Regions from separate parts of the Homo sapiens genome. Here regions 1, 2, 3, 4, 5 and 6 are each linked to region 7. The links are contacts of gene promoters, found by promoter capture Hi-C in human tissues and cell types (Jung and others, 2019). All regions are on one chromosome and are shown on one strand. Each heading gives the region's core, a stretch centred on a gene start or on the middle of the fragment in contact. The rest is flanking DNA. Distances are from core to core; before and after follow the strand shown.

Evidence for each region. The method cuts DNA at HindIII sites, captures the fragments that hold promoters and counts their contacts. A contact is called where the count stands out against the background at its distance.
Region 1: a fragment that was not itself captured here is called in contact with the fragment with the promoter of CARS2 in region 7 in 1 of the 25 tissues and cell types used here (H1 embryonic stem cells).
Region 2: a contact is called between a fragment that was not itself captured here and the fragment with the promoter of CARS2 in region 7, in 1 of the 25 tissues and cell types used here (heart left ventricle).
Region 3: a fragment that was not itself captured here is called in contact with the fragment with the promoter of CARS2 in region 7 in 1 of the 25 tissues and cell types used here (dorsolateral prefrontal cortex).
Region 4: a fragment that was not itself captured here is called in contact with the fragment with the promoter of CARS2 in region 7 in 1 of the 25 tissues and cell types used here (bladder).
Region 5: a contact is called between a fragment that was not itself captured here and the fragment with the promoter of CARS2 in region 7, in 1 of the 25 tissues and cell types used here (IMR-90 fibroblasts).
Region 6: a fragment that was not itself captured here is called in contact with the fragment with the promoter of CARS2 in region 7 in 1 of the 25 tissues and cell types used here (spleen).

The regions. Positions count from the first base shown.
Region 1 is chr13:110,244,469-110,247,709 of GRCh38, forward strand. All of the region lies in intron 1 of COL4A1 (collagen type IV alpha 1 chain), which reads right to left. Among named protein-coding and RNA genes, the nearest start is that of COL4A1, 61 kb to the right of the region's middle. The HindIII fragment of the contact is 4,468 bases long and covers 1-3,241 here.
Region 2 is chr13:111,070,207-111,073,502 of GRCh38, forward strand. No RefSeq gene overlaps it. Among named protein-coding and RNA genes, the nearest start is that of LINC00368, 24 kb to the right of the region's middle. The HindIII fragment of the contact is 8,666 bases long and covers 1-3,296 here.
Region 3 is chr13:111,206,830-111,210,012 of GRCh38, forward strand. It overlaps ARHGEF7 (Rho guanine nucleotide exchange factor 7), which reads left to right. Exons shown (of 22, transcript NM_001354046.2): 4 at 3,043-3,173. Among named protein-coding and RNA genes, the nearest start is that of ARHGEF7-AS1, 60 kb to the left of the region's middle. RefSeq lists an enhancer at 1-36. The HindIII fragment of the contact is 3,516 bases long and covers 1-3,183 here.
Region 4 is chr13:110,212,969-110,216,055 of GRCh38, forward strand. It overlaps COL4A1 (collagen type IV alpha 1 chain), which reads right to left. Exons shown (of 52, transcript NM_001845.6): 3 at 958-1,047; 4 at 814-858. Among named protein-coding and RNA genes, the nearest start is that of LINC03082, 85 kb to the left of the region's middle. The HindIII fragment of the contact is 5,934 bases long and covers 1-3,087 here.
Region 5 is chr13:111,184,827-111,187,974 of GRCh38, forward strand. The region is part of intron 2 of ARHGEF7 (Rho guanine nucleotide exchange factor 7); the gene reads left to right. Among named protein-coding and RNA genes, the nearest start is that of ARHGEF7-AS1, 38 kb to the left of the region's middle. RefSeq lists enhancers at 1-43, 144-403. The HindIII fragment of the contact is 3,787 bases long and covers 1-3,148 here.
Region 6 is chr13:111,155,152-111,158,606 of GRCh38, forward strand. All of the region lies in intron 2 of ARHGEF7 (Rho guanine nucleotide exchange factor 7), which reads left to right. Among named protein-coding and RNA genes, the nearest start is that of ARHGEF7-AS1, 8.3 kb to the left of the region's middle. The HindIII fragment of the contact is 3,840 bases long and covers 1-3,170 here.
Region 7 is chr13:110,704,259-110,707,618 of GRCh38, forward strand. It overlaps CARS2 (cysteinyl-tRNA synthetase 2, mitochondrial), which reads right to left and starts at 1,858. Exons shown (of 15, transcript NM_024537.4): 1 at 1,612-1,858; 2 at 1,263-1,313. The coding sequence starts at 1,835. RefSeq lists a silencer at 1,666-2,225 and enhancers at 2,276-2,655, 2,666-2,785. The HindIII fragment of the contact is 14,015 bases long and covers 1-3,360 here.

The DNA of each region.
Region 1 (3,241 bases), core at 173-2,672, 460 kb before region 7:
TTTGGTGACCACTCAGAGGCATCCAAAGAGATGAGGCCAAAATCTGTAACCTGTGCTCCAGGAGGTTCTTCCAAAATGGACAAATACCAGTACTGAGAGACCTCACCAGAGGTACCTAACTCAGCCAGTACTACCATGTGTCTAATCCCCAGGTGAGGGTCACCTGCTCCCTACCTGGCTCCTGCGAATTGCTGACTGCATGTCTCTATTGTCAGGCTTATCACGTTTCTCGTTGTTTACTTCTGTGTCTCCCCGGTACACCCTGAGTGCTTTGGAGGCAGCCTCACATACAGCTCACACCAGGCTCCCGTAGCATTGAGCCTGATGTGAGCTGTACTTCATCTAAGACGACACCAATTGTAAAACCCATACTAAGAAATCAAGAAGGGTACTAATTAAACAATGACACATTATCAATTGTTAGATCTATCCCAATTCCAGAGTTGTTAAAACATCAATAAATGCACATCTTAGAATTGATGAAATCAGTACCCAATTATGGTTGTATTCTTGGTGCTGTTACTGGTGTTACCCATCTAAGCAACCTTAAGTAACAACTGTAGATGGAAATCCAGTGGCACCGCGCACCTCAACCACAGTGCATTCGTGCACAACAGCACTGTGGGACAAAGCTCCAAACAGGGAACTCGGCAATGATTACCTGACTGCTCCAGATCACAGAGTAGCCAGGGAAGAGCCGGGGACTCTGGGGAGTGCGCTGGCATCTGGCACCTGACACCTGGAGCCGTCCAGACCAGCTATTCCATCACCAGGTCATCTCCAAGTCCCTGGAGTTTCGGGGCAGCCTCTTTGCTGGGATTATGCCACTGCCCACAACCTGTTTGCGTTTGAGCCAAGTTTGGAAACACATCTCTGTTCTTTAAACTCTGCAGTGTTTCATCCCCCTCCTACAGATACCAAAAGGAAAACCCACCAGGCTAAGTCTCATGTATCTGCAGAGTCCATTTAGGAAATGTCCAGCAGTCATCTGGGCTTAGCTGGCAGAAACTCAACACCAGCCTGAAGTAGTGTGGATTTTCGACTTGTGAGTCAATTGCTGCTTTCTGGGAAAGAGCAGATTAAGCAGGGATTTAAGGGATTGAAGCTGAAAATGGCTATTTGGTGATCTGGAGTTTTCTGAAAGGTTGATAAAATCTCAGAAGCTTTATCTTTCTGCAATTTGAGGGAGGTTATAAAAATGAATTTCCTGGAACTGGGCCCTTAAGCCATCCGTGAATGCTTCCATTGCCTGGGACTGCAGATAAGAGGCTGCAAGGCTGTGACTGTGGACCCTCGGGTCAAGACGCTTCTTGTGCTTTTGGTACAGAAACACCCCCAGCCGGTGCCGGTGACAGGCGGGTGGGTAGTTTTACCCTGGGGACCACTTCAGGTACTAAGGAACACTGGGGAAAATCAGAGATGAGACAGGACTGACCCCCGACCCCGGCCTTCCCCCACCACCTTACGCTTTTTCATAAGCAAGTAATTTTTTTTAATCCTGGACCAAAAACATGCATGGCTTTATGTGTGTAGGGAATTTGATTATCAATTCTAAAAAATTGATCATTCCAAAAATATCTAAATTAGGGTTAGCTTTTCAGAACAAAAGATGTCTAAGATCATGATTTTTGTGTCACATTCTGGGTGGCCTAGCATTTTATGTAAATGGTTTTGTTAAAAAAAAAAAACAAAAAAGCTAGCCTTTAGAATGACAAGAATGACAAACAAATATCCTAAGATGTATGTTTACTTTGTTAAATAAAATCTATTTTAAAATATCACTATTCTGGTCCTTTCTGTCATATAAGGGCCCGTGCTGGGTTTCACCCTGGCATATGAAGGTATTTTAGCTGCAGTTCAATGGTTCACTGCTAAAAAGAAAAAAAAAATACAAAGGATGACCTGAGTACCCCCTTCACTCAGGTGTAATGTATAAGCTTCAAATGGTGAATTAAAATAAAAGTCAGGTAATGCAAGTCTTAATTCACTGTTGTAAATTACTGTGTTTAAAAGGGGTACATAAATAATGCAGGTTACCCAGGTTCACAATTTCATTGGTGACCTGACATGTGAAAAGCTATGTCACCATTTCATCATTTCCTGAGGAAATACACCTTGCATCTGGACTCCCAGAAAAATCTAAAGCTATATGCAGACTGGTGGACTCCACCGGCTCCCTGCTGGCTGCATATCTGAGGGCCTTTATGAGGGCTCTGCATTCTCCCGGTGTCTGGATGACCCTACAGATAAGCTCCCATACCATCTGTTTCAGATTCTAGAATGGGAAGAACTGGTACATTCTGTGCGGTACTCATCCTCTTCCTGGTTTTCCCCTCATTGGTGTTCTAGGGTCAATGAGTTCCAAGTTCCTGGAGCAATGCCTGTGTTGTGCTCCTGTGAGGCACACACTTAACCCGAGTGGTCATGAGGATGAAAGTGGGTCACGAAGGCAGTCTCCACTTGGAAGACGGGGAATATGGCTGGGAGTTCTCAAAGGAAAGAAAGGCGGGGGTCTCGGTCTCTCTTATAAAAGCAGACCAGCCATGGACAACAGCAACACAGGTACCCCAGACCAATGTGGAAAAAGAGGACCCTAGAAAGCTCTTGGGGTTGGGGGTGAATTTATTATTTATACTCCTAAAACTGTAGACAAACTTAATGAAAACCAAGTCAGTTTTGAAAGTCCTTTTAGCCTCTTCCCCATAGACCATGTGGCCTACAGAGTATAATAAGTTGTCTCCAAATGGAAGCCAAACTGACTTAACTGTGTTTGAAACAGAAAAGAAAATAATAATAATAGTCCCCAGTGGACTCTGTCAGACACACACACGCACACATAACTTCAATAGCAGAGATCAGCTTTAAACGAAAACAAAAAATACAATATGAAAGGAATGCAAAAGGTACTACAAAGTAATCCCTAAACCAAATATCTTTTATATTCTCTAAAAGTCTCTTAAACTTTTCAGGATATGTTAAAATAATTAATACTGTGAAACTTTTCTTTCATGCTCCAATTAAGATATTCAGAGATCCACCATCAGTATTCACGTTATAAAGTATATTAAGTTCTTAAAATACACAAAGATTTTACAATACACAGTACGAGTGCCAAAGAAGAAAGGGGAGGAAGAGAAGTCAATGGTTTTAATAAGAAATAAAGCCTATTTCTGGTTTTCTCGCATCTACAGACCAAGAGGGCGCTCTTCTCAAGATTACAGTGAATTCCATTCCAGAGGAT
Region 2 (3,296 bases), core at 133-2,632, 370 kb after region 7:
TACTTTCTGTCTCTGTGACTTTGAGTCCTCTATGGACCTCATCTGTCTGGAGTCATACAGTATTTGTCCTTTTGTGGCTGGTGTATTTCACTTAGCGTAACATCCTCAAGTTTCATCTGTGCTATGGCACATGTCAGAGCATCTTTGCTTGTTGAGGATGGATAACACCCCATTGTTATCCATGGGGTGGATGACATGAAGGGCCCACATTTTGTTTATTCATTCCTCTGTTGGTGGACATGGGTGGCTTCCACCTCTTGGCTATTTTGAATAATGCTCCTAGGAACATGGGTGTACTGATCTTTTTGAGTCTGCTTTCAGTTTTCTTGGGCATTTAGCCAACAGCAGAATTGCTGAATCCTATGATAATTCTAGGTTTAATTTTTTCAGGAGCTGCTATACTATCTTCCACAGTGGTGAAAAATTCTCCTTGTGTCACTGGGACCTTTCCTTTGCCATGGCTTGTGTACATTCTCAAGTAGCTTTCAGAGTTATTTCAAAAGAAGTCGGGACCAGCGATGCCAGCATGGCTGAGCTTTTCACAAGTTTTACACCTAGAAATGGGTGGTACAGCAAGGTCCAAGGCAAAAAGATGGCTCCTCTGACCTCTAGGACACCCCACACCCCACTCTTTGATCCAGAGGTGTTGGAGCCTGTGAGGAAGGATGAGGTGGCAAGGTGAGAATTGAAAAGCGTGATAGCAGAGATGGGGAGTTCTGCAGAGGTGAACAAAGAATTCAGGAGATTCTGCAGAGGCAAAGAAAGAATCAGCAAACATGAAGATAGGGCCATAGGAGTGACCAAAAGCAAGGCACAAACAGGAACAGGGATTTTTAAAACAAGCACACAAAAAACCCAGAGCATGTAAGAGCTTTGGGAAATTATCGGACATGCTAACAGATGTGTAACTGGAATCCCAGAAGAAAAGAAAATCAGCAGAAGAAATATTTGAAGATATTGGGGGAACCTGCTCCCCATATTTCAACATAGGTTCTTTTTATTTCCCATAAGTGTCAGCCGGCTGAGAAATAAAGAGAAAGAGTACAAAGAGAGGAATTTTACAGCTGGGCCGCCAGGGGGTGACATCACATGTTGGTAGGACCGTGATGCCTGCCTGAGTCTCAGACCAGCAAGTTTTTATTTAGGGTTTCAAAAGGGGAGGAGGTGTAAAACAGAGAGTAGGTACAAAGATCACATGCTTCAAAGGGCAAAAAGCAGAACAAAGATCACATGCTTCTGAGGGAACAGGACAAAAGGCAAAACAGAACTACTGATAAGGATCTATGTTCAGCTGTGCACGTATTGTCTTGATAAACATCTTAAACAACAGAAAACAGGGTTCAAGAGCAGAGAACCAGTCTGACCACAAATTTACCAGGGTGGAGTTTTTCCCCACCCTAATAAGCCTGAGGGTACTGCAGGAGACCAGGGCGTATTTCAGTCCTTATCTCAACTGCATAAGACAGACACTCTCAGAGCGGCCGTTTATAGACCTCCCCCAGGAATGCATTCCTTTCCCAGGGTATTAATATTAATATTCCTGGCGAGGAAAAGAATTTAGCGGTATCTTCCCTACTTGCATGTCTGTTTATAGGCTCTCTGCAAGAAGAAAAATATGGCTCTTTTTGCCCAACCCCGCAGGCAGTCAGACCTTATGGTTGTCTTCCCTTGTTCCCTAAAAATCACTGTTATTCTGTTCTTTTTCAACGTGCACTGATTTCATATTGTTTAAACACACATGTTTTACAATCAATTTGTACAGTTAACACAATTATCACAGTGGTTCTGAGGTGACATACATCCTCAGCTTATGAAGAAAACAGGATTAAGAGATTAAAAGACAGGTATAAGAAATTATAAAAGTATTATTTGGGAACTGATAAATGCCCATATTAAAATGAAATCTTCACAATTTATGTTCCTCTGCCATGGCTCCAGCCGGTCCCTCTGTTCGGGATCCCTGACTTCCCACAACATGAAGAGTTAATGTCCAAGAATATTTAAAATTCATGGAAGACACCAAACCACAATCCAGAGAACACCCAGGAGGACAACCACTGCTAATAATACTAATAACCACAACAATAATAAACACTGGCTAGACCAAGCATAGTACAACTGCTGCTGGAAAAACAGAGAAAACAGGCACTGCAAACAGAGGAACAAAAAGAAAATCACAAACTTTGAATTAGAAACCATCCAAGACAGAAGATAATACAGCGACATTTTAAAGTATTTAAAACAACATGCCTTTAAAGCTAGAATTCTATTTCAGCAAAAATAATCTTTCAAAAATGAAAGGCAAATAGGAGACTTCAACTTCTGACCAAGATGAACTAACAAGAGCAAGATTAACCATCCCATGAGGAAAAAAAACCCAAAAGGAAAAACCAAAACATATGAAACATTTTCAAGATAGTGAGCATCAGGCAAGAAGGCCAGGGACCCAGAGAAATGGGCAACCAGAATTCGAAGCAAAGCAAACCCTAGAGATGTGAAGAGGGCCACACTTCCAAGCACATGTGGAACATTTTAAAAAACAATTCTGCAGTGTGGTGGCTCACGCCTGTAATCCCAGTACTTTGGGAGGCTGAGGCAGGTGAATCATGAGGTCAGGAGTTTGAAACCAGCCTGGCCAACATGGTGAAACCCCGTCTCTACTAAAAATAAAAAAAAATTAGCTAGGCATAGTGGCAGGTGCCTGTAATCCCAGTTATTCAGGAGGCTGAGGCAGGAGAATCACTTGAACCCAGGAGGTGGAGGTTGCAGTGAGCCAAGATTGTGCTACTGTACTCCATCCAGTTGACAGAGTGAGACTCCGTCTCAAAAAAAAAAAAAAAAAAAAAACCATTCTCCACTGGGCCATAAAGGAAGTCTCAGCAAATTCCAATGACTAATATCATACAGACCACATTCTCTGTCCACAATTCAATTAAGTTAGAATTTTTTAAAAAAAGAGATGTATTTTGAAACTGAAACACAATATAGAAGAACTCTTGAGTTGAATTAACAATCATCATGAAAATTTAAGAATATTTAGAACTTACTGTGTATGCATTCCTAAAAAATATAGCTTAATTTTGCCTAAAGAAACTTGCCTAATTTTATATAAATGTAATCATATTGAACTTATTATGTCTTGCTTATTTTGGCCAACATGTTTATAAAGTTTATCCACTTTGTTGCACATAGTTGTCTTTGTTTATTTCAATCAATTATCAAGTCAGGATTCTGATTACTTCTGAGACAGGAAGAAAGGAATTGTGATAGGAGCAGCACATGCGGGCTTATTTTGG
Region 3 (3,183 bases), core at 392-2,891, 500 kb after region 7:
CGGGCACCTGTAGTCCCAGCTACTCGGGAGGCTGAGGCAGGAGAATGGCGTGAACCCGGGAGGCGGAGCTTGCAGTGAGCCGAGATCGCGCCACTGCACTCCAGCCTGGGCGACAGAGCGAGACTCCATCTAAAAAAAAAAAAAAAGAAAAAGAAAAAAAAAGAAAATCACTTATCTAAAGTTATGGATGACATTGAAAAGGACATACATTTAGAGTGGATCACTGGAATTTAATACAAGAAATACTGCAACAGGTGATGTACAGAAGTGGCATATTCATGTGTCCTGACCACATGGGGGAATCTGCCTGCAAACTCATATTCATCCATGCCTCAGAGTTTTGAATTATTTTTTATGGAGGCAGGGTCTTGCTCTGTCGTCCACGCTGGAACACAGTGGTGTGATCTCAGCTCACTGAAGCCTCAGCCTCCTGGGCTCAGGCAGTCCTCCCACCTCGGCCTCCTCAGCAGCTGGGTCTGCAGGTGTGTGCCTCTGTGCCTGGCTAATTTTTGCATATTTGTAGAGATGGGGTTTCGCTGTGCTGCCCAGGCTTGTCTTAAACTCCTGAGCTCAAGCTATCTGCCTGCCTTGGCCTCCCGAAGTGCTGAGATTACAGGCTTATGCCACCATGCCTGTCCTAAATGATGTGCCTTATAATTAACGTAGATCTCTGTGGCAGATGGGGCAATAGCACAGATATGTAAAATCTACAAGTAATCCTTAATTTGACTCTGCTCCCATTGAATACTTTTTTAGAGGTTGCTCACAGGAGCAGAAGATAGTAACTTTGAATTTCATTGTAGATGTTTTCTCTGCTTTTGCTGTAAGTGGGGGTGCTAATTAGGACGAAGTGGCTTTAGAACATGGCTTTAATTTGTACACTCAGTCTTGGGATTGTCAACCATCTAGGTTTGAGACGGTAGGATTTACAAGTAAATAAGAGAAGTCAGAATCCAGTAGCTCTCAGGCTATTAGTTTTTACCTCTACCTTATGGAAATGTATTTTGTATATGTTCTTGGTATCATTGGCTATGTGTTGGATGTAAAATAGATAGCTTTGTTCTTTACAAAGACAAATTTGGAAGTTACCACATAAACTTGGTACTTTTAAGCTTTTAAACTATAGGAATGACCCCTCCTAGATGGAAGGAATGCTTTGCTTTTCTGTTTGCCCTTTGTTTTTGTTTTTGAAGTCAGTGGGAAGGCAATACCCGTACGTTTTCTTTTTGAGACAGAGTTTCGTTCTTGTTGCCCAGGCTGGAGTGCAATGGCATGATCTTGGCTCACCGCAACCTCCGCCTCCTGGATTCAAGCGATTCTCCTGCCTCGGCCTCCCGAGTAGCTGGGATTACAGACACGTGGCACCACACCCGGCTAATTTTGTATTTTTAGTAGAGGCGGGGTTTCTCCATGTTGGTCAGGCTGGTCTGGAACTCCCAGCCTCAGGTGATCCACCAGCCTCTGCCTCCCTAAGTGTTAGGATTACAGGCATGAGCCACTGCGCCTGGCCTCGTTTCTTTCTAGATTTCAGCTTTCCTTGATTGGCAAACAGTAAGACAACTGCAGCAGCCACAGTTACTGTGGACATTCTTGGGAAAATTGTCATTGTCTTTCTGCTTCTGTCTCTTAAAATCATATGTGTTCTCAAGGCATTTAGTTGACTGTAACTGGCCTTTTAATTGGATAGAAGAAAGCTTGGTGATGGGGAAGTACAGAATGTCTTCAGGATGGCCCTCCTTGTATGAGAATTTCCTGGAAGGCTGTGGCCAGCAGAGCACTGCAGACCATGGCCGGGAGCCCTGTAGAATTTGCTGGAAATGCCCTTTTAGCTGGTTTTGTGCTGCGGGTTGCCTGAGACCCCTGTGTTCTCAAGCAGAATGTGCTCTATAGAGATTACTCGTAACCTGCCCTCAGCAGGTCCTGGGAAGTGTAGGGTGAGGGGGTGACCTGAGAAGAATTTAAGATCGTTGGAGTAGCAAGCCCCCATCTGTGGGGTCAGGCAGGTGGCGTGAAGGGAGGAGCTGGATGGAAGGGCATGGGTGCTGGGTCCTCTCAGGACAGCCCCTGCCCAGCTCTGAGCCAGCTTTACCTGATGGGATATAGACCTGGTGTGGCCACATCCTAAATGTGTCAAGAGCAGTGGGGAATCTGGGTTTTTGGTGATACCTTCAGACTTTTCGATGTTGACCGTTTAATTCAGAATTTTATAAGATACGTGCAAGCCAATCCAAACACCTGGGAGGAAGCTGGGACCTGGAGACTTAGGGTTGCTTTCATGGAAGCCTCCCTGGAGTTTAGGACATGGCCGGGCACGTGCCTCTCAGAACAGCGATTTTCCCAGCAAAGTTTTTCACAGCCTCATTCTCTCTTTTTTTTAATTGAGTCACTTTTAAGAATAAATTGCTATTATTTATTTGTTGGATGGCCTGTGTGGAGTGTCTTATGAAGGGAGATCCAGAGAACAGAACTAAGCCTCTTACTGTCTGTTTACTTTGATTCTGTCAGCAACTTCATGAGGTGAGTAGAGCCTGTGCTGCCTTAGTGTTGGGGAAATAATCCTCACAAGGTTCTCTCTGGCTGAAAAATACACTGGATTTTCTCTTTTAAATAAGAGTCTTTTCCTTCTGTTGCTTATTGCATGACACATCGTCCTGGAAAAGTGGGCATGTGGTGGTGATGCTTTGGAGAATCAGTACTTGGTTGTTCTCCGCTCCATAATCAAATTTGAGAGGCTTTTTTTTCCAGGTGAAGGGAAAATCTTTAAAAGTTATAATACATTTCACAAACTTTTGAAAATTATATTAGAGAAGAACTGATTAATAGTTATCTCCAGATAATTTCTGGAAAGGTAGTTGGGGAATGAATGCAAGTCATTTATGTAGCAAATAATTTGTTCTTTGTTTTCTGCATAAATGGGCTGCTTTGTTGTGGTCTTTTGGTGTGTCCCTCTGTGCTGCCCTAGTTTTAAAGTCTAGTGTGTAGTGTGGGTGCGTGGTATCAGGCGCTCTCAGCTCTCTTTTTCTGTGTGCATGCTCTTTGCAGACATCGGGCTGGGGAGTGACTCCGTGTGTGCCCGGCCCTCGTCTCACCGCATAAAGTCTTTTGACTCCCTTGGATCACAGTCTTTGCACACTCGGACTTCAAAACTGTTCCAGGGCCAGTATCGGAGTTTGGTAAGTTTGA
Region 4 (3,087 bases), core at 88-2,587, 490 kb before region 7:
AACTTGAATGGAGCTAGAGGCCATTATTCTAAGTGAAGTAACCCAGGAATGGGAAACCAAATACCGTATGTTCTCACGTATAAGTGGCGTCTAAGCTATGAGGATGTAAAGGCATAAGAGTGATACAATGGACTTCGGGACTCAGGTGGGGGGAAGGCTGGAAGGAGGTGAGGGATCAAAAACTACGTAACAGGTAGAGCGTACACTGCTTGGGTGACAGGTGCACTAAAATCTCAGAAATCACCACGAAAGAACTTATACATGCAACCAAACACCACCTGTACCAAAAAAAATTGAAATAAAAAAAAACAAAAAAATAAGTTTTTAAAAGCTGACTGCTGATCCCTTCAAACATAAGGCTGCCCATGCACAAAATAACTCTGCTCCCATTTCATCATTACTAAGAGGTGGAGAGGAGGAAGAGCAAGGCTGGCTCTGAAAATACCATGACTTTTCCATTAAATGAAGTCATCTCTGTCTAATGACTGTGGACACATCATCAATTGCCCCTTCCCCCAAATTAAAAAATGCCCAGAAGAGATTCCTGAAGAAGAACAAATGGGGGAAAGCAAGTTTGCAGAACCAAGGACTAAGGAGCTCAGCCTGTGCACAGTCCCCATGGGAAGGACTGGGGCTCAGGGAGTCACGGGCTGCTCCTCACTGCCTGCCTCGCGCCTGCCTGCCCGTGCTGTGTGAGCTGGGAGAGGAGATGGAGGACGAGGGCAAGGAGAAAGGAGGGAAAAGGTGCCCGGCTCTGGAAGCGGGCCTGTCCCACGCATGGAATCATCGATTGTGAGTAGCAACTGTACTCACTCTTGTCCCTTTTGTTCCAGGTAGTCCTGGTTCTCCAGTATCACCCTGGAACAGAATAGAAATGCCATTGTCATTGATCACCGCTATCTCAAGAATGCGGGCAATCTTACATCCACCCACCCCCAATCCCACAGCCGTGCTTACCTTTTGTCCTGGTGGTCCCTGTGGCCCCTCAGGTCCTTGCATTCCAGGAAACCCAATGACACCTTGTAACCCCGGGAGGCCTCTTTCACCCTACAGAAGAGGAACATCAGTCAGGCAAAAGGCAGCAGTAAAGAACAGAGGAAGGAATTGGTGACCAACTGTGATGGCTATATATATATTTTTTTTGAGATGGAGTCTCATTCTGTTGCCCAGGCTGGAGTGCATGCACGATCTCGGCTCACTGCAAAGTCCACTGCCTGAGTCAAGGGATTCTCCTGCCTCAGCCTCCCGGGTAGCTGGGATTACAGGCGTGCGCCACCACGCTGGCTAATTTTTGTATTTTTAGTAGAGGCAGGGTTTCACCATGTTGGCCAGGCTGGTCTCGAACTTCTGATCTCAGGTGATCCACCCACCTCGGCCACCAAAAGTGCTGGGATTACAGGCATGGGCTACCACGCCTGGCCCGTGATGCCTAATTTTAGGTGCCAAGTTGACTGGGTCACAGGATAATCAGAGAGCTGGTAAAGCATGACTTCTGGATGTGTTTTTGAGGGTGTGTTTCTGGAAGAGATGGGCATTTGAATACATGGACAGTAAGGAAGATCTGCCCTCACCCAGGGTGAGCAGGTGTCATTGTTAGTTGAGGCCCGGATAGAACAAAAAGGCAGAAGAGAGGCCAATTCTCTCTCTTCTGGAGCTGGGCACCCATCTTCTCCTGCCCTTGGACATCAGAACTCTGGGTTCTCTGGCCTTCAGATTCAGGGACTTGTACCACTAGCCCCTTGGGCTCTCCAGCCGCTGGCCTTGGACCCAGTTACACTTCAGGAGTCCTGAGTTCCCAGGCTTGCAGGCGGCAGATCATGGAACTCCTCAGCCTCTATAATCCTATGAGCCACTTCCCATAATAAATCTAAGCAGCATCCAGCCTTGCGCAAGTCCACAGTGAGTGTCTGGAAACAGATAGCAACGACTACTTCAGGTGGTTTTGCTCTACTGTGTTTTAAACTCTTGAGGGCAGGAAATATTTATATCTCATTCCTAGCACAATCCTTTATATGTACTTAATGCCAAATAATTTCTTGGGTAAATAGAGTAACAAATAGCGAGGTGTTTTTCACTGAACTGGTTATAATTTCGCTCAATCAATGGAACTCTCTTGTTAGCAACAGCCTCAGTGCTGAGATTCTGTGATGGAGCCTCCAAGACGTCTTCCTCTTTAGAGACCATTAGGAGATGTGGGTGGGCAGAGTCCACAGTGTGCACCTCATGCAAGATGCTTAGCCTCCCTTGGGCCATCATGGGGTGATGGTGGGCTTTAATGAGAAATGTCTTTCAAGAGTATTTTTTGGGCTGGGTGCGGTGGCTCGCTCATGCCTGTAATCCCAGCACTTTGGGAGATAGAGGCGGGCAGATCACCAGAGGTCAGGAGTTCGAGACCAGCCTGGCCAACATGGCAAAACTCTTTCTCTACTAAAAAATGCAAAAATTAGTTGGGTGTAGTGGTGCACGCCTGTAATCTCAGTTACTCAGGAGGCTGAGGCTGGAGAGTCACTTGAACCTGGGAGGCAGAGGTTGCAGAGAGCCAAGATCATGCCACTGCACTCTAGCCTGGGAGACAGAGTGAGACTCTGTCTCAAAAAAAAAAAAAAAACAACAACCCATAACCATTGTAAGAAATCAAGAAAACCTATTTACTTTACAGCATGTGGACTTCAGTGCAGCCTTACCATACGAATTGGGTAGATTCAGTAACCATTGTTAGCTGATTTAAAAACATAAGGCAGACAGTTTGGAGATCACAGGCAGGATTACTTAGTGTTCAGTGCCTTTCTCAAAGTTGCATTAGTTGAAAGTAAAAATCAACCGACAAGCTACACACCACATAACATAAACATCCAAAGTCGTCCTTCTTTCCAAACCACTCAGCCAGTCCTGGCACTTAACTGGTGAATTAACTGCCTGCTCCATTTTTACAAACGCAGGAAGGACGTTATGAACCTGGGACTCAGCCGCCACACCTCCATAGAGCTGTGTTTCGTTGAAAGGATATGTCAGGAGTCTAGACACAGTATGTGGATAAATATGGGAGAGATTGTTTCAAACCCTAAAGAATTGAATCAAACAGTAAAT
Region 5 (3,148 bases), core at 227-2,726, 480 kb after region 7:
GTGCGGGTTGTGTGTCTGGGAGCAGGTGGGGAGAACCGGATGGAGGGCTCTAGAAGCAGCTACACGAGCAGAGCTGAGGGAGACACTTTCTCTGCACCTGTTTCCTGTGTCACACTTCAGATGGGGGATAGTCCAGGCTGGTGGTGGAGCTCCCAGGGGATTTCGCTTCTGGGTAGAATTGTCATTTTTTTTTTTCCTCAGAGACTGTTGTGTGGGCCTAGTGGTGCATCAGGTTCCGGTTAGAATCCAGTGCAGGCCGCAGGCTTCTCTTTAATTAGAGAGGGTCACTTCACCTCCGGTTAGAATCCAGTGCAGGCAGCAGCTTCTTTTTAATTAGAGAGGGGTCTGGGTGCTGAGCTTCCCATCAGGAAGAAGGGGCTGTCGTGCTGAAGTCCTGAGGTGGGTCACGTGTCCCTTCCTGTGTTAGAAAACCGTCTTTGGTGCTCCTGGGGCTCCCTTACAAGTGCTGTTCTGAACTGTTAGGTCATTCAGAGTCCATCTGCGTCCTGTCCCCAGGGATCTCCTCAAACCCTGTTTAGACTGCTCATAGCCTTTCCCTTTTTAGCACTACAGCGGGTTCTTTCTCTGTTAATTTTTTGAAGCTTTTTCTTTCTCTCATTTCGGTGGCACCTTGGGAGGGATGGGAGTTAGATAGGTGTTTGCAGTGGGCCATCTTGAGAAACTTCTCAAAACTGGAGTCTTGTAACTGCTTGCATTTTGAAGTTAATGGAATGGGCGCATTGCCTTTATAGCTGTAAATGTTACTGCTTCACTTACTGTTAGCCCAAGCCAGTGTGTTGCATCTGCCCAGATCCTTCTTTGTGGTATGTGCTCACTTTCTGGCGACAGCCAGGCTGTTCTTTGCAGGCATGTGCTCCTAGCAGTCGAAGACAGAAGTTTGGGGGCCTGTGTAGGCTGTATGGGCTGCTGTGTGTGTGTACGTGGTGAGTTGTGTCTGAGACCACCCCTCCTCCCCTGGGTGCTGCCTGATCTGCCTGCATGACCGCTGTGGGACACCACTGTCTCTGGTGTCCTTTCCTGGCTGGCAGTGTGGTGGTGTGGGCAAAGCCAGGCTGGTGGGCTCCGATCTTGGTTCTGCCTTTGTAAGCTTTGTCACACTGTCTTTTGGGAGCTCGTGTGTGTGTGTGTGTGTGTGTGTGTGTGTGTGTGTGTGTGTGTTTTCGTTTTCTGCCTGTAAGATAAACTGGCATGCAGTCTACACTGAGGTACGGGCTGTGTGGGCCAGCACAGCATGCCGTGGTCCTAAGCAGGGAGGTGTCCTTCCTTTCCCCTGCCTGTTGGGGCTGCGCTTCCCTGCCTCGTGTGGAGGTTGCGCCCGGTCTGCAGAAGGCAGAGAGCATCTTGTTGGGAAGAGCCCTGCCTGCCTTCCCGTTGCTGTGCTCCTGCCTCCCTGCTCTGCTCCTCTCACCCCTTCCTGGAAACTACCTAAAATACTTGGTTACTTCTTTTTTGAAGATGTATTCTCTGTCCTAGTGTTTGGGTGTTGATACAGTGGAATCCACAAAATTGAATAAGATTTGATTTTCATTTTAAAGTGAAATAAATCATTTGGGTGCATGTTGGGTGAAAGTGCCGTAATTGATAGCATCCGTCATCAGACTTTAATTTTACCCCTGGGGTGTAGGAGTGGGTGGGATTAAGTACAAAATCTGCAGAAGCCAGGAAGTGAAAACGTACTGCTGGATTTCTGTTTTTCACATGTCCCCAACAATATGGACCATTTGCATTAAACTTAAATAGCACCACTTATTTAAGATTCATTTTTTACTCTTGTTCTGAAATCACAAGTTCCATTTGACAGTGATAGGACAAAATTATATTTTTAAACTTTGCAAACCACACTCCAGAGCTGTGCTAAAAATAACAATTTCTTGTGTCAAGAATAACTTTCTCAAGTTCCTGGAGGAGGCGAGCTGACTGGTGGCAACGCAGACCACTAAAGCTTCAGTGAGCCCAGAAAGTGTGCGCTCAGTCCCACATTGCAGAGGCCTCTCCGTCAGTATTGAGATGGTGGAAAGTGAGGAGAAGCAAAAAGACGACTACTTCTTTCCCCATTTCCCGGTCTGGTCTTTTTGGGGTCTACTACGTAGAGGTGCATCAGCCAGCGCTACCATGGAGGCAGGAGGCATTCTTTTGCTCTCGTGTCAGTACTGACGGGGTTGATTAAGGTTGCTGTGCTTGTTGGTGTGGGTATTGGGAGGGTGGTGTGAAAGCAGTTGGGCTGGAATAGAGCTGGTCAGTGTGTCCTTTTGCGTGCATTTGTGTGGCCCTAGTGCTACAGTGGTGTCCCTTAGCTCTGGGGGACTGTCTGAATTTTTGTGCTCTAAATTATTAATACATGTTTATGTGTGGGTTTGCCAGAATGCTGTGTCCGTTATTGTTGGCTCCTTGGACAGCTCTCCTTGTTCTGCTTCACTGGCTGTGAAATTGGTTCACGTGGTGGGCTCTGGGTCCAGCGAGATGCATCTGAGGTGTTGACCTGGTGGTGTGGGCCTGGGGCTGCCAGTGGTCCTGTTGCCTGATGAGGGAGACCGTTCCTGAAACTGTGGCGCACACTCAGGAGAGTAGGAAAGAGAGCGGAGAAAGCCTTCCGGTTCTGAGCTTGTGGCTCTTGCCATTCCTGACTTGTTTGTTGTGCGAACCAATAATTTCCTTTTTTTGTTTAAGCCAATTTGAGTTGGGTTTACTTGCTTGTAGTGGAAAGGTTCTGACACAGGATCTTTATTATATGAAGTATTTTCATAATGTACATTGTGTTATATATTAGACATATCACACGATCTATTTTGTGATGTAGTTTGCTTTGCTGTTTTTATTCTGTGGAAGATATTCCTGAATTTCTACACTTCCTATGAATTTGGAAGTGGGGTGAGGCAAAGTCACTAATATCGGGGTATCAGTAGGGGAGCCTTTCGAATCCCAAACATTGGAGTGTCCTTCTGTGACCCGTTTCTTTGTCAACTTTTGTCCGCTAGGCAGAGTGGCTGTGACATCTGACATCCAGTGTGAAGGTGTGGTCACTCAGCTGGAAGAGAAAAACCTAGCACTCTGAGAGTGGGTGGATCTGCTGGTGATTTTCAAGCAATGTCTTCCCGTTTTTGGATGCTCATCCCTTCTGTAGTTGGAG
Region 6 (3,455 bases), core at 1-2,500, 450 kb after region 7:
TTGGTATCCACCGGGATCCTGGAACCAATTCCCTGCTGATAAAAAGGGACAACTGTATATGAAAGCATCTTTGTAGAACCTGTTATGTAGGATAACCCAACAGAGGTTTCCCTTCCCGAAGAATATTTTGCTATAGGTTTCTCGGAAAACCTAGAACATCAAATCTGTGAGGGCAGGTTACATGGAAAGTTTATTTAATTGAATTAGACATGTAGGAATTCATAGATTAAAGTATTACTGGCGTTGTTTATGATTGTAAACACAAAGAAATTTATTGTTGGTAGTATTTCATGTTGGCAAGGAAATTATTACACGTAAGTGAAAGTGCTAGGGGAGATTCCAAGAAACTTAGGGCCTTTTCAAAGGGGAAAAAGACAGTGTTTCAGTAGTCTTTCCCTGATACCCTTTGTCGTATCAGCTTTGTCATTTGTAATCCAGCTGCCTTATTGGCTGTGATAATATGCCTTGCTAGTGGCAGGTTTTACTTTTTCTTCACCTTTGTGAGGGATTTTATTATATTATCCTCTTGAAACTACTGAGTTTTGTTTACGTTAACATACTTTTGAAACTCAATTGGCACATTAAGATTATCTGACTTTAGTGTAAAACTTTTTAAAAAAGTTTTGTTTTAAAGTAAATTGAGGCTGGGTGTGGTGGCTCACGCCTGTAATCCCAGCACTTTGGGAGGCCGAGGCGGGTGGATCACATGAGGTCGGGAGTTCGAGACCAGCCTGGCCAACATGGTGAAACCCTGTCTATACTTAAACAAACCCAAAAACAAAAATTAGCCCGGCGTGGTGGCGTGCACCTGTAGTTCCAGTTACTCAGGTGGCTGAGACAGGAGAATCCCTTGAACCCCGGAGGCAGAGGTTGCAGTGAGCTGAGATTGCCACTGCACTCCAGCCTGGGTGACAGAGCAAGACTCCCTCAAAAAAAAAAAAAAAAAAAAAAGTAAATTGAATGTTAAAAACTTACCGTTTTTAGTTTTCCAAAGGTTGCTGACATTTCATACAGTAACTATTGTTTTTATAATTAAGAGTTTATTTGAAGGTTTTCTGGAAGAGAGTTTTCACTAACATATTCCAAGCATCTACAATAGTGCTTGGCACATAATAGGCTTTCAATAAATATTTGTTACTAATAGAATGAACTTGAGGTTGTAAGTGATAGCAAGTGAGTTTCATTTTAAAGTAAAAAATTAGTTTTGACTTATTTTGTGCTATTTTTAAAGAGTAAATATCTCTTCCAGTAAATTTAAGCAAGAGGCAAATGTTAGCATTCTTCAAGCTTAGTGTGAGTCACACTTGTAATTACCTAGGAGATAATAAAAATGAAAATATGAAAACAGCACATGAAAAACCTGATAAATTGTTCAGTCATTGTGTTTTTTGGGAAGTTACCCTGAGAAGTCATTTTGTATGCTATGCATCCAGCTCTGGCTTCCAGCCTTGTAAGGTGATGTGAAGGGACAGGGCTGGGCCCTGAAGGACTTGGTCATCTCCCATGCGGGCCACAGTGCAGCAATTTCCCAGTGTTTAAGAATTGCTTAGGGAGTCAGGAGGGAAGGGCCTTGCACTTGTGAAATATGTTGTGGGATTTACACATTTCATTTTCACAAAATTCTGAAAGGTGGGAAATTGATAAGAAATGTTTTGAAACTACAGACACAAAACTTAAAACTAATAGCTTAAATTCTAGATTAGCTTTTGTTCTATAGTTGTAAATGTCAAGGTGCTTTTCTTCCAGGGGTTAGTTTAGACTGAATTGTGTTTGTAACAGATTGTTTTTGGTGTATATATTCTTATTTACTGTCAGTTTAAGCTCTGCTAAGATTTGTTAAAGGGAAAAAGGAAGTAAACTTGGTTAATATGTCAGCTGTTTTGGTGCATGCCCTCCTTAATTACCTGTAGAAAATCAGATATTATCCCCCAATTGTTTTGATTATGAAAATATTTTTATAAATTGGTTTTAAAGGAATATTGTGTGAGTCGCATTTATTGGTAAACTTTGAGAAGCACTGGGTTTTAAGCTGGAAAACTTTGAAATTTGGAAAATTAAAAAAATTTAATTACTGTTGGAAAGCAGTGCAACTTGGATGACTTCATTTTCTTATAACTTTTTTACTTGGCATGCTTAAATTTTTTTTTTTTTTCCAGTTAGGGCAAAAAACCCCTAGGCACACAATTTCTATTTGTATCTCAAAAGCAACCAAAATAATAATTATTAATAAGAATAATGATGATGTTGGCTGGGTGCAGTGGCTCATGCCTGTAATCCTAGCGCTTTGGGAGGCTGAGGCGGGTAGATCACCTTAGGTCAGGAGTTTGAGACCAGCATGACCAACATGGTGAAACCCCATCTCTACTAATCACGCCACTGCCCTCCAGCCTGGACAACAGAGCAAAACTCCGTCTCAAAAAAAGAAAAAAAAAATGATGATGATGATGATGTTTGTAGAATTTCACTTGAGGATAAGTAACTTACTGAGGCAAACCAAGCAAGTGATAGGACATTTCTTTGCATTTTCTTAGGTAAACAGCTACAGAGAAATTCAGAGTGATTTCTGTTTCCAGTATTTTGCTATGTTACTGTGGAATTCTGATTCAAGTGTTGTAGCTACTGTAGGATGTGTATGTGTGCATGTGTGTGTGTGCACATGCTTGTTCACTGAAAAGGTCACAATGAATTAGCTTCCAAGATGTTCCCACCCTATGCAACATTGTCTGATTAGGCATCTGACAACTAGGGAAGCAGGTGAAATGTAACTGGCAAAAGCAGATTTTATGTTCCTAGGAGAAAGCTTGTTTGGTTAAAGCCATCACGCCTGTAACATGTTTACCAGTTTTTTATTTCAAGAGCTGAAAGTTAAGGATATAAGATTCCAGTTAATTGATACATTATTAAGCTCACATTAATAACGTGGTTTCAGGAATATTAGCAACAAAATTATTATAATAAAGCTATGGATTTTAACTTAGTTCTGTTTGAAAGAAAGATGTCTACTGTTCTTGATACTTAGCTATATTCATACATAATAGAAAAGGGTAATCTTGATGGATAGTTTGATATTAATGAGGCTTTTTTGCTTAAGAATTGACTGTGGGCTCACATACAGTGTTACCATCACTACTTGAAAGGAAAACAAAACATTTCAGATGAAACTGGGTGAGCCTGTTCTCATAGTTGCCAAGAGGGAATAAAGCCAATTTGTCAAGTGTAAGGAAACCACAGCTCTTTCTTGTCATAGACCATTTCTGGAATAGTTATGTTTGATATGATAGGGATGGTAACCCTAATATATTAATAATTGATCTTTCCAGCTCCTTGGCACTGCAACTAATACTAAAATTATCTGCAGGTTTCACAGTTGCTGTTCATTTATTTAACTGTTTTTCTGGAAAAGTGGAAAGCATCCAAAGGCCCAGGTGGTTCAGAACAGAAATCTGCTCTTTTCT
Region 7 (3,360 bases), core at 608-3,107:
AACAGAACTGTTTTCTTTCTCTTCTACCTTTGTGGAAAGGTTTTCCAGGGTGGGGGTTTTGTTTTTAATATTTCCCCAACATATTTTATAATTCAAGAAAGATGTCGAAATATGCTTTTGATAATTAAAAGTATGTTAGCCCAAAGTAAAGGGGAAAAATGTATATTTAAAGTATACAGAGTATGCCGGGCATGGTGGTTCATGCCTGTAATCCCAACACTTTGGGAGGCCAAGGCAGGTGGATCATTTGAGGTCAGGAGTTCGAGACCAGCCTGGCTGACATGGTGAAACTCCGTCTCTACTAAAAATACAAAAATTAGCCGGGCGTGGTGGTACATGCCTGTAATCCCAGCTACTCCGGAGGCTGAGGCAGGAGAATTGCTGCCAGGAGGCGGCAACTGGACCTGGGAGGCAGAGGTTGCAGTGAGCCGAGATTGCACCACTGCACTCCAGCCTGGGCGACAGAGCGACTCCGTCTCAAGAAAAAAAAAAAGTATACAGAGTAAATGTAACTTTTTACTTTTAGTCTAGGACTGAACAATACTAAGTTTTAAAAAATCTATAATATGTCATTTTTGTACATTATATTTTGGAAATGTACAAAATATTAGGAAAAGTGGTAATTTTGGCAAATGTAGGAGGCAGTACATCTTACAGTTAAAGAGGTCAAGAGAGCAACCACTTCGCAGTCAGAGAAACCAAGCCTCACCCCAGTTCCAATACCTCTTCAATGTGTCATCTTAGGAAAGTTACTCAATCACTATTGAGCCCCGTGACATCTCACATGTGAGGTACAGTGTTAAGCAGCATTTTATGGGCATTATTTACTAAAATTGTTATAAGATCCAAGTTATCATTCCCATCTCAAAGATGAAGAAACCAGGACTCAAAGCAATAAAGTGACCTGCTCAGTGCTGTGAAGCTAAGAAGTGGTGGGGCCCAGGAATGACTGATCAGCAGGACCCCGGGACCCCGCAAAGGCCTCTTGATGTCACTAAACCCAGCAAAAAACATCTAGTTCCAAAACGGGTCATTTTTCAGTGCTCCATTGTCTCCCTGAGTTTCCTCACCTGTAAAACGGGTGTAAGTGCTCAGAATCCCTATAAGAACCAAATGAGGTTGTAACATTTCCCACAATGCCTGGAATGTAGGAATTATTCTGCATCCCTAAGTTGCCACTTAAGAGATAAAAGAAATCAGCAAAAGGCTTTCAAAAATAAATGGTCCTTTGAAGTATGAAAATTCAAATCCAGGAAACTCACCAAGCATGGCCAAGGTGCGCATGATCATATACAGTTGGTCCACAGCTATACCTGGAAACAAAGTTAAAATCCATCGTGTGGAACATATTTGCAAGAAAGGACATTCGATTCTGAGTTATAATGATCATATAATTTTTAAAGTAATCACTTCTGGGGGATGAATAGCCGGGGTTTTCATACTTGCTCAATTCACACCCAAACCTGCAAAAGCACCGCGCACCCCCAGCTTCTAGAACGGCGCCCTCCATGCAGCTTCCTAAACGCCCTCCCCGAGCCCAGATCCCGTTCAGCCGTGGGAAGTCTCCGCCACGATCGGCCCCCGCCCGTGCCCCAGTCCCGCGCGGCCCACCAGGAGGCGGCTTCGGCGTGCGCCACGATTAGGGGTTCCTTCCTCCCGGTGAGGCTGTTGTACACCTGCACACCCGTCTCCCGGCCCGTGGGCTGCAGCCAGGCCCGCCCGCGCCCCCCGCTCGCCGCCCGGCCCGCAGGCCAGTGCCACCCAGCCCGCCCAAGGCCCAGCGCGGCCTGGAGCAGCGGGGGGCCCAGGCCTGGGCCGCGCGTAGTCCTCAACATGTCAGCGGCCAGCGCCTACGACTGGGCGGAGACGGGAGCCACGCCGGGTACGCTGCCGGTCGCTCAAGAGCAGCACGGCCCCGCCCCGCCCCGCCCACGCCCTTGGGGCCACGCCCACTCCCGGAAGCAGTCCTCAGGTAGCGCCTCCCTTTGGCCTGGCTCGAGTCGCCCGCGGCAAGGGTGGAGAACCAGGGCCCGAAGAGGTTGGGGCGGGGAAGGCCCGGGGTGGAGGGAGGAGGGCGGTGCCGCGCCGGGAGGCCGTGGGAAGAGGCGGTACCGTGCCGATCTCCTCTCCTTATTAGCCCAGGTCCTGCGAGGCGTCCGTGTGCGCGCGGTACCAGCCTGGAGCTGTGTCCGCCGCGCGGGAGGAGCGTTTACAGTGCAAGCTTCTGTTGCCGGGCCCTGGCCTGTTAGCGAAGCACGTGTGCATCCCAGCACAGCCCACGTCAGCACGCTAATACACAGTGTCCACCCCAGAACACACGTCAGCACCCCAATACAGTGTGCACCCCAATACAGTGTGCACCCCAAACACACATCTGCGCCCCAATACAGTGTGCACTGCAGCACACCGTTAGCATCCCAACACAGTGCACCCCGATACACAATGTGCAACCCAACACACAGTCTGCACCCCAAGAAGTGTGCACCCCAATACACAGTATGCACCCCAGCACACACATCAGCATCCCAATACAGTGTGCACCCCAATACAGTGTGCACCCCAGCACACACATCTGCACCCCAATAGTGTGCACTGCAGCACACCATCAGCATCCCAACACAGTGCACCCCGATACACAGTGTGCAACCCAGCATACAGTCTGCACCCCAATACACAGTATGCACCCTAGCACACACCACATCAGCATCCCAATACAGTGTGCACTCCAATACAGTGTGCACCCCAGCACACACCATGTCTGCACCCCAGTACAGTGTACACCCCAATACAGTGTGCACCCCTAATACACTGTGCACTCTAACACACACCATGTCTGCACCCCAGTACAGTGTGCACCCCAACACAGCACATGTGCATCCCAGCAAACACTGTCTGCATTCCAATGCAATGTGCACCTCAATAGAGTGTGCGCCCCCACACATCTACACCCCAATACAGTGTGCACCCCAATACACAGTGTGCAACCCAACACACACCATGTCTGCACTCCAATACACAGCATGCCTCCCCCACCATGATCCCGTATCTTGAGAACAAAAACATTCTGAAAGTTACTCACAATAGCTTGACAAACGTGCCTCTATTGGGCCAGGCGCAGTGGCTCACACCTGTAATCCCAGCACTTTGGGAGGCTGAGGCGGATGGATCACCTGAGGTCAGGAGTTCGAGACCAGCCTGACCAATATGGTGAAACCCCGTCTCTACTAAAAATACACAAATTAGCCGGGCGTGGTGGCGTGCATCTGTAGTCCCAGCTACTGGGGAGGCTGAGACAAGAGAATCGCTTGAACCCAGGAGGCAGAGCTCACAGTGAGCTGAGGTCACACCACTGCACTGCAG